2 separate regions of the Homo sapiens genome follow, and region 2 is linked to region 1. Evidence: promoter capture Hi-C in 16 types of primary human blood cells and fetal thymus (Javierre and others, 2016). All regions are on one chromosome and are shown on one strand. The core of a region is centred on a gene start or on the middle of the fragment in contact, and the rest is flanking DNA. Distances in the headings are between cores, read along the strand shown. Region 1 holds the start of PTCHD1 (patched domain containing 1). Region 2 overlaps PHEX (phosphate regulating endopeptidase X-linked).

Evidence for each region. Contacts are between HindIII fragments. The CHiCAGO score rates a contact against its expected background, and 5 or more counts as called.
Region 2: a contact is called between a fragment that was not itself captured here and the fragment with the promoter of PTCHD1 in region 1, in 1 of 17 cell types (endothelial precursors). The highest score is 5.5, in endothelial precursors.

The regions. Positions count from the first base shown.
Region 1 is chrX:23,333,101-23,337,594 of GRCh38, reverse strand. PTCHD1 (patched domain containing 1) reads right to left here and starts at 2,746. Exons shown (of 3, transcript NM_173495.3): 1 at 2,369-2,746. The coding sequence starts at 2,719. The HindIII fragment of the contact is 10,599 bases long and covers 783-4,494 here.
Region 2 is chrX:22,123,256-22,127,793 of GRCh38, reverse strand. All of the region lies in intron 11 of PHEX (phosphate regulating endopeptidase X-linked), which reads right to left. Among named protein-coding and RNA genes, the nearest start is that of PHEX-AS1, 47 kb to the left of the region's middle. The HindIII fragment of the contact is 200 bases long and covers 1,374-1,573 here.

The DNA of each region.
Region 1 (4,494 bases), core at 1,497-3,996:
TGATTCTTTCACTCCTGACACCTTTCCTAAAGGACAAGTCATCATGTCTCTAAATGAAAAAAATTAAAAAAAAAAAAGTGCTCACTCCCACACTTTACATTACCATGACTAATGAAGGTCCATCTTCCTGTCCCCTGGCTCCATATCTACCAAAAGTAGGGGCTGGATGCAGAAAGAAAAAATTAAACATATAATTTAAAATTGAAGACAGTTATTTCCTTGGTTCCGTAAGTCTGGATTTTTATAAGCTGTATGAACTCATTTGACCAGAGAGTCATCAGCTAGAAATAAGTTCGGACCACTGCTAGGCTTGGTTTTGATTTTACTCAGACACCTAGAAGATGAAAAACCATCCCAGTTCTTAAAACAATCCACTGATTTTTGACCATTGTCCTTTAAAGTTGCCCTTTAGATATGGAGGCAAACCAAGCCTCCGTCTCTCCAGTCTCAACCTTCTCCTATAGCACTGTTTTCTGTCCTGAACTGATCAAAATCAAATAGGGAAGAAGTAATCCAGTTGAAAAGAGATCTGATAATGCTTGTTGATGTCTCATTAACCTTGAGAGTGACTGTAACTGGTGACTGCCTGTCACAGTGGTGTGATGGTTTGTGGGTGGGGGGGGAAAGGCAATGGAAACGTCACCTTGAAAAAACACAAAAAGAGAAATATCATTTAGTAGATCATCAATCAAAAGACGGGGCATTTCCAACTGTCAGAACTGGTTAAATTACAGTTTCCTTATGCCCATGATGAATCTACTATGTGTTTTCGTGGGAAAGCTTTTGGAGCAGTATTTATCTGTGTCCCAAAATATAGTCACTAAAGTATTGAGAGAAAAAAGAAAACCACTTTGATGCTGGAAGTCTAATCATGAGAAAAACAAACATCTCGGGATTAATGTTATTAAGGTTCTGTGATGAGTAAATGTGTGATGTGTGCCATTAAAAATATCATGAGCCACTCCATGTGGGAAGATCCTAATTCCATTGAGCCCCTAGTCAGATTCCCCTCATTACTAATTGCTAATTGATAACATGTCAACAAACGGACATAGGAAAATAATGAAAATTAGCTTGTCTCTAGGGATAAACTATTACCTGTAGAGGAAAAGAAGAGGAAAGAGTTCCCCAGGTTTCCCGGCAGACTCCCCTTGGGATAAGTAGACTAGAAATCTAACCAGCCTCTAGTACCAGATCTGGACTAGAGACTCACACAAAACGATCACCTTCCATCCCTCTGCACCAGAGTCCCAGCTGGGACTGGTTCTTGTCTGCCCTCCCCAAAGGAGAACCTTAAGTAAACAAGCCCCACAGTCCCCATCAGGGATTCAGATGGAACATTCTCACCTATTTTTACTTTTCTCTCCCGAGGTCTCCACTTTTCCATCTCTAGTCCTCACTCCTCTGCTTTTCTTAGGAAGTTCCTGAAAGTTACCACCATTAACCTCACTTTCCACATCAAATTCCCACCTCAAGCTGATGGCACAACCGGTTTCTGCGAGTGTCACCCTCTAACCAGCTGCTCGGTTTCCTGTGCTCTTCTCGGGGTCACACAGCCTGGCTTCTGTTCTCACCCTTCGGGCTCTGCCCCTCACCCCCATGCTCAGATGCACCCAAATAAAAGTGGATTGATCGGTTCCCTCTTTTCCCAAAGTTTTGGCATTTCTTGAGGAGCTACTGTGAAAGACGAAGGAACTGCGAATTACAAACATAATTTCATACCCTAGAAGATAGAGATGGCTACCTCGCTCCGGAGAAGAGAGCAGCAGGGCAGCCCCCTGTCCTCGCCAGAGACCACACTTCTTTCTGGGTGGGTGGGAGGCATCTTCATCACCATCCCGCCTCACATTCTTTTGTCCTTTCCCAACATCCCACACCAACAACCGTTCCCCAAACACTCCGGGGGGCCAGAAAAAGGGAGAAACAAAACTGAGGACAGGGAGGGGTATCTCGGAATCCCCTCCAAGCATAGTATTTTGTTCTCAAGTAGTAGGACTTTCCAGAATGTCTTCTCTCGTTCTGCTCCTTGCTGGCCCAGTTACCCCAAAGCCTCCCCACCCCCAAGCCCACTGCGACCAAAACAAGCGCACCGACCACAGCACTGTGGCCGCCGCCGCCCCAACTGTTGCAGCAGCTGCGGGGTGGCGGTAGAGGCGACGCGGGCAGGGCCGGACCCGGACCCCGACGCTCCTTGTCCAGGAGGCTGGGAGGCTCCAGTCGGCCGCCCTGGGGCGCGCGGTGCAGGAGAGTCCCTGCGGCAGCTGCCTGGGCTAGGAGAGGTGGCGCTCTCAGCCGGGACCCCAGCGCAGAGCCAGCCCGACCGCGGCCGCGGCGCTGGCGGAGTCTGCCCGCACCCGTCCCCTCTCACCTTTAAGATCAGGTCGGTGTGATGCTGGTCCAGCATGTTGGCTTTCTGGAAGGAGGTGACGATGACCCGGCCGTAGCGCCCGGGGGTCTGCAGGTCCGAGTAGAGACGGTGCTTGGAGCGGTTGACCGGGAAGAGGCTGTTAACGAGGTTGCGCTCGATCTTGGCCAGGCTGTGCTGGGGCGCCAGCAGGTGCTCCACGCTCTCCTCGACCTGGTAGCGGCTGAAGCTGGCGCCGAGCAGGATGGAGATGAGCACCGGCGCCGAGGCGAAGAAGACAGGGTGACTGGCAATGAAGTGGCCGAGCCGGGAGAAACACGTCCTCAAGCCCCTGTGCAGAACCTGCCGCAGCATCCTAGAGCAGAGCGGGCGCGGGAGGAGGGCGAGGCGCACGCTCGGCGCGGGTTCGGGCGGCGGCGGCGGCGGCGGCGGCGGCGGCGGCAGCGGCGCCCGCGGCGGCGGCGACGGCGGCGGCGGCGAGACCCTGAGCTCTCCCGGAGCCGCGGCACCACCATCGGGGAGTCCCGCGCCGCGCCTCGGGAGGGTCCCCTCGAGCCGGAGACACGCCCTCCTGCCCGCGGCCGCGCCCTCCCGGAGAGCCCCCCAGCTTGGCGGCCTCTGCGCCGCCCCCACTCCGCCCTACCGCGTGCGCCCTCCCCACCCCCCGCGGCCTCCCCGCCAGGGGGGCTCCGCGCCGCGCGGCCGCGTCCCCTCTCAGCGCGGGCGGGGCCCGGGGCAGCCCCCGCGGCTCGTCATGACCCCACTCACCCGACCCCCAAGGCCAACGACGGGGTGGCGCGGGGAGCGGCGACGGCGCTATCGCCAGGAGACTCTGCGCGCCCGCCCAGGAACACGAGGACGGAGAATTCCAGGCTACACCCAGTCCCCTCCCCTCCCTTCGCTCCCCTCCCCCGGTCCGGCCCGCCAAGCTCGCTCTCCCCTTCTCTGCCCTCCTCCGGGAAGACCCAGAGATAAATAAAGAAATGGCCCCGATTTTCCAAACAAAAAGTAAAGAGTTCTCAGGAGTGGGGGGAGGGGGCGGGTGTCGGGCGGACCCGCTCAGAGCCGAGTCTCTCCAGAGGCTTAAAGGAGCAGGCTGAAGACTGCGTGCGTCCCGGCTCTCGCCAGGCTCAGGTGGTGGCGCGCACTGGCTGGTGCCGAGAGGGGGTGGGGAGCGAAGACGCTCGAACGTGGAAATCACGCCTCCTTCCAAATAAGAACCGTTTAAAATACCCCCAACACTGCAGCTTCGGCGGGACCACGGGGTCCGGGTGTGTGTCTGGAGCACGTCCACTCAAAAGGTATCCGTGGAGAATCTTTCTCTGTGGCTCTAATTTAGGGTCGCTCCAGAGTGGATTGGGGCTGGCCAGCTCTGTTGCACACCCCCCAACCTCCCACCCAGTCCTTTAGTAATAAAAGTGCTGATAATGACGGTCAGTCGATGGAACTGTCCGTCGCCTGGGCTCCCGGGCTCCCGAGCTCCGGGGCTCCCCGGCTCCCGGTTCTTCGCCCTGCCTTCTCTTCCTCCTCCTCTCTCTGTCGTCACCAGCAGGTCTGGGGGACCTGGTGCGGCGTGGCTGGCGCGGGCGCCCCTGCGGGCGTAGAGTGTTTGAGAAAGGCTGGCCAGGGAGTCAGTAGCATTAACCCCCTTCTCTGCCTCACTCCGCCCTCTCCTCCCCTACATGCGAAGGTGTGAGAGTGGAGGGAACCTTATCTCAGAGCAGGAGAGATACAGGTCTCCGAGCGTGTTGAGCCGCAGGGGGCGCGGGGGAGCCCGCGGGGCGCCGACGGCTTGGCAAAGTTGGGCGTGTGCGTGTGCGCGCCAGCCGTGAGCTAGCAGGCAGTCACCGTGGTTCCCCTCGCACTCCCCCTCCGGAGAATTCCCCGAGAAGGCGGGCGCCGGCTTCGGCCCCGGGATAGACCTGCGGCGGCGGCGGGAACGGCCACGCACAGGTACAATTTAGCGCGTTTCATTTCGCGCTCCAAGCTCCTGGGTCTGTCCACTGCAACGCAGACCGAGCGGGATCTCGGAGTCTGGGTCACTGAGGCGCTCTCTCCAGCCAGGGGGGTGGGATACAGGGCGCGGCGAGGGGTCCTCAGACTCCGCGCTCTGAGCGCTCAGCCTCCCC
Region 2 (4,538 bases), core at 224-2,723, 1.2 Mb after region 1:
TGAGCCTCAGCTGCTCTTTGCCCTTGTCTTCTCTGGCACCTCCACTCCCCACACCATCCCCCACCTCAGGTTCTCAATTTTTTTTTTTTTGGCAGACTTTACAGATTTATTGTATAACATTTTCTGTGAAATGGTGTTGAACTACCCCAGCAGACTTCAAGAACAAGGAAAATCTTTGAAGGTGATTAATTTCATTGGTTGACATGTCAATGCAAATAAGAGAAATAATTATTTTAGCATGCTGGAACTAGGAAGATAAATCACTGAACACTTCTGATTTTTATCTTTAGACTACTCTACAGCATCACATAATAACATTGCCTTCAGTCAAGTCAAAAACCTGCTGTAATTTTAAAATAAGAAAAAAATAGAGAAATAGTATTTCTTCACCAAACTTGGACCTCACACCTCAACCAGGCAGCATATAACATTAATAGAAATCCCTTAAAGTGGAAGTCTTAAGGTGAAGTTATCCATAGGAAATATTTATTTAGAGCCAGTCAAAGGTCAAAATATAACATATAAAAATTAACTCAAGTGTTATTTTGGTAAAATCTGCCATATTCAGGGTAAGAGCCCTCTAGGCAAAGCAACGTTTTGTTAAATATCTATTTATTTCAGGGGCAGGGCGCAATGGCTCCCACCTGTAATCCCAGCACTTTGGGAGGCCGAGGTGGGCGAATCACCTGAGGTCAGGAGCTCAAGACCAGCCTGGCCAACATGGTGAAACCCTGTCTCTACTAAAAATACAAAAATTAGCCAGGCATGGTGGCGGGCAACTGTAATCTCAGCTACTCGAGAGGCTGAGGCACAAGAATCGCTTGAACCCGGGAGGTGGAGGGTGCAGTGAGCTGAGATCACCCCACTGCACTCGAGCCTGGGTGACAGAGCAAGACTCTGTCTCAAAAAAAAAAAAAAAAAAAAAAAAACAACTATTTCAGATTTTATGGATCCACACTATAAAAATACAGTTCATTTGGTTGATCTATGGGCAGTTCTTAGTTCTCTTCCTCAACCAGTGTTATCTAAAAATAGGTTCTTCCTTTTTCATTCTTTGCACCCCAGGATTTTGCCCATAGAGTTCTACATCAGACACCAGACATTGGTGAGTCACATATGCATAGGCACTTGTTACCCTTCAATCCAGGGCTTTACTTTAATGAGATGCTCCTATCTTAGCAAATTATAAATTATCTCTCCTGCTCCTCTTGCCCTCTCCTTACCCTTCCTCCCATCACATAGACATAAGAATTCTGTACTTTGCATAAATGAGTCATGATGGTTCTATTAATACATTTGAAGGGACATATGCCAACATTGCTTTAAGGAGGGATTAGTTTGCCCCATGATCGGTTGTAGTTTTCTTCAAAGCTTTGTCCCTGATAATAAAGAAATCCCACAAGGCAACTCAAATCCTATCTCATACCCATGAATCCCAAACACTTAAACCCACACTTTCAATTCCCTCTCTGAGTTCCTGTGAGGCTTAAAATCAGAATAATACATAGGTGTGTGTTTAATTGTTGTCTTTTCATTTATATTTATTTGGTCTCCCTAACAAGACCCATAAGCTTTGAGAACAGGAACCATGATTTAGATCAAATGAGATCATGAATATGTAAGCAAACAAAAAAGTATTCTGCTAATTTAAAATTTTGTTAGTTTTATGATTTCATATCTCATGTGATATGATTTTTCACGAGTCCATATCTCACATTCATACCTAATACTAAAATATAGCAGATGCTCAGTAAATACAAGCTGATCAATTTATGCTTTTTGAAACCTTCAATTGGCACCTAGCAGAGTTGAAATTGAATCAAATATCTTTCATATATGCTAACAGATAACAGTTATTCCAATAGTATAAAGAGAAAATATTAACAAACTCACTCATAGAAAATATGGTGCTGTGCAGATATGATCATGAGATTTAACAACATGAAAGCTGAAAAAGGGAAAAAAAAAATGCATGGTACCCTTTTTAGGTGAAGTCATTTTTGAAAAGAGAGACCTACTCTGATTTAGTAATTCAAAGCCTGAATCCATGAGTAGAACTTATCAGTGAATAGAAAATCCATCGTTATATTAGGGGACAAGGTTCACAGCAAATGTCTCCAGAATGACTGTAGCCTACTACCAAACACAAACTTTAGTGGAAATCAAGTGACTCTGTAAGTTAGCCTAGTCCATTCTAAGATAGGTGATGTCAACATGGTACATGACAAACAGCTTGGAATGGTTTAAAAATATAGTACATATCTAGTAGGAATAATTATAGGCTAGGAGTTCTGAAAAAGAAAAGAAAGGAAAAAGAAAAAAAATCAGTAAGGTTGATTATGGGCATTAACCTTAAACTAATTTAATGTTAATAAAATTCTTAACGAAAAGGCATAATGTTGAGTAGGCTTTCCTCTTTAACATACTTAGAAGTTATAATATCTGGAAAAAAACCATGAGATTAAAATGTTTCCAGTCTTCTCATTGCTCTAGAACAGGGCAAGTTTTCTTGAGTTGTAACCACTGATTGGTGGAATGTGAAAAATGGAAATCGTTGTTAATAATTTATGTGGATAACCCTGAAGAAATAGGCTTTAATCTCAGGGGGACTCTTAAAATTTTCTTTCTGGCAATTGTCACTTTACTAGAAACACAGACATTAAATAAATGAATGCACCAATAAATATGAAATATTCATTAATTAATTACTTATACTATAACTATTTATAAAAATGCCCTTGGATTGGCTCCTGATAAAAAATAATGGCAACAAAATAAGTAAAAAGTGACCTATATTGAAGTGGGACATGTGGTTAAACCAGAAGAACTAAGGATAGTTAGAAAATGCTGAGGTTTCTGGCAGCCAAGTGAGTGAATAAATCATATCAGTTTGTCAGGATTAGCAGTGTTACATAGCTATTAAACATTTTGGCAAAAGAAGAAAAAATCAAATTATTTGGTGCTATAAAGTGGGTTATTCTGGTGGTACAGGAGGAGTTTCTCATGTCCTTTTATCTAAAGGTATATATTCATAAGACTCAGGTAGATATTTATATTTCTATTTGCTGGATATGAACATATAGGCTGTGTTCTAATTTTATAACTCATCTTTTCCTGTTTTCCACTTTCCAACTTTAAGAGAGGATGGATCAGAAACCAGAATAATATTTACAAGTCAATCAGTCTCAAATAGTCTAGCCTTTGGCTGTGGGTAAATTCTCCCCAGCAAGTAACTATGTCTGGTCACTTCCAACATTCAGATCTGTTGGAAGGCATAAATGTTTTCTTTAGGTAAATGAATTTCTAATAAAGGGTCTTCACATTCCATAGGTCTGACCAGATCTGCTTGACAAGACTGTGGCTGATAATATGTGGCAAAGGCAACACTGCCCAATGCTAGCCAGAAATGGAGAAAACAAACAAGAAAGGTGAGCCAATGTGTCATCGTCGTGGCAGCACACTCAAAGACAAGGACAAGAGTAAGTGTTCATACTTATTTCAAAAGAATTCCCAATGAGCTATCTAAATTACTTGTTTTGCTGGATGTTACTTGACCGAAGATTGCATAAATGAGCTGTCACGATTGGGACCGGATGATATTTGTTGTAACAAGATTTAGCCTGCAGAGGGTTATGAAATCTGGACCTATTCTAGAAATTACATGGCCGGGCATGGTGGCTCATGCCTGTAATCCCAGCACTTTGGGACGCTGAGGAGGGCAGATCACGAGGTCAGGAGATCGAGACCATCCTGGCTAACACAGTGAAACCCCATCTCTACTAAAAATACAAAAAATTAGCCAGGCGAGGTGGCATGCACCTGTGGTCCCAGCTACTTGGGAGGCTGAGGCGGGAAAATGGCGTGAACCCGGGAGGCAGAGCTTGCAGTGAGCCAAGATCGCACCACTGCACTCCAGCCTGGGCAACAGGGCGAGACTTGGTCTCAAAAAAAAAAAAAAAAGAAAAAGAAATTATATTTGGCTCCTCGAGTAATTTCATGAGTAATTTCATGAGACTCTTGTATGAGCCAGACTTGGCGTTAAATGATAGGGTGGGTTCTGGAATGTGGCCAGGGCACTAACATGAAAAGGATCTTTATTCCAATGAAAGCTACTATACTAGGCATGTATGGAGGAGTAGCGACAGCAAAACCCCCCAGGCACCTCCCTCACTCTATGATAAATTAAAAAGAGGCAATCTAAATGCAGAAGTTGCCACAGCCTGTGCCAGGAAGTTGATATTATAAATTCTATCTTAATTATTAACATTAGGCATGGCAATATTAGCAATAAGAGTAGATGACATTCACTGAGCACTTTTTGTGTACCAGGTATTATGCTAGGCCTTCTACATAGATTATATCATTTAACTCTCACCTCAAATGAAAGAAGGAGGTATACTTTTATCCCTATTTGTGATACACAGCACTGACAGCTTTAATGCCATACTCCTTCATTTATCCACACCCCTTACTGTGTGACTTTGCAGATCCTCTCATTAAAAATGCAGAGTTACAGGTGGCTCACACCTGTAATCCTA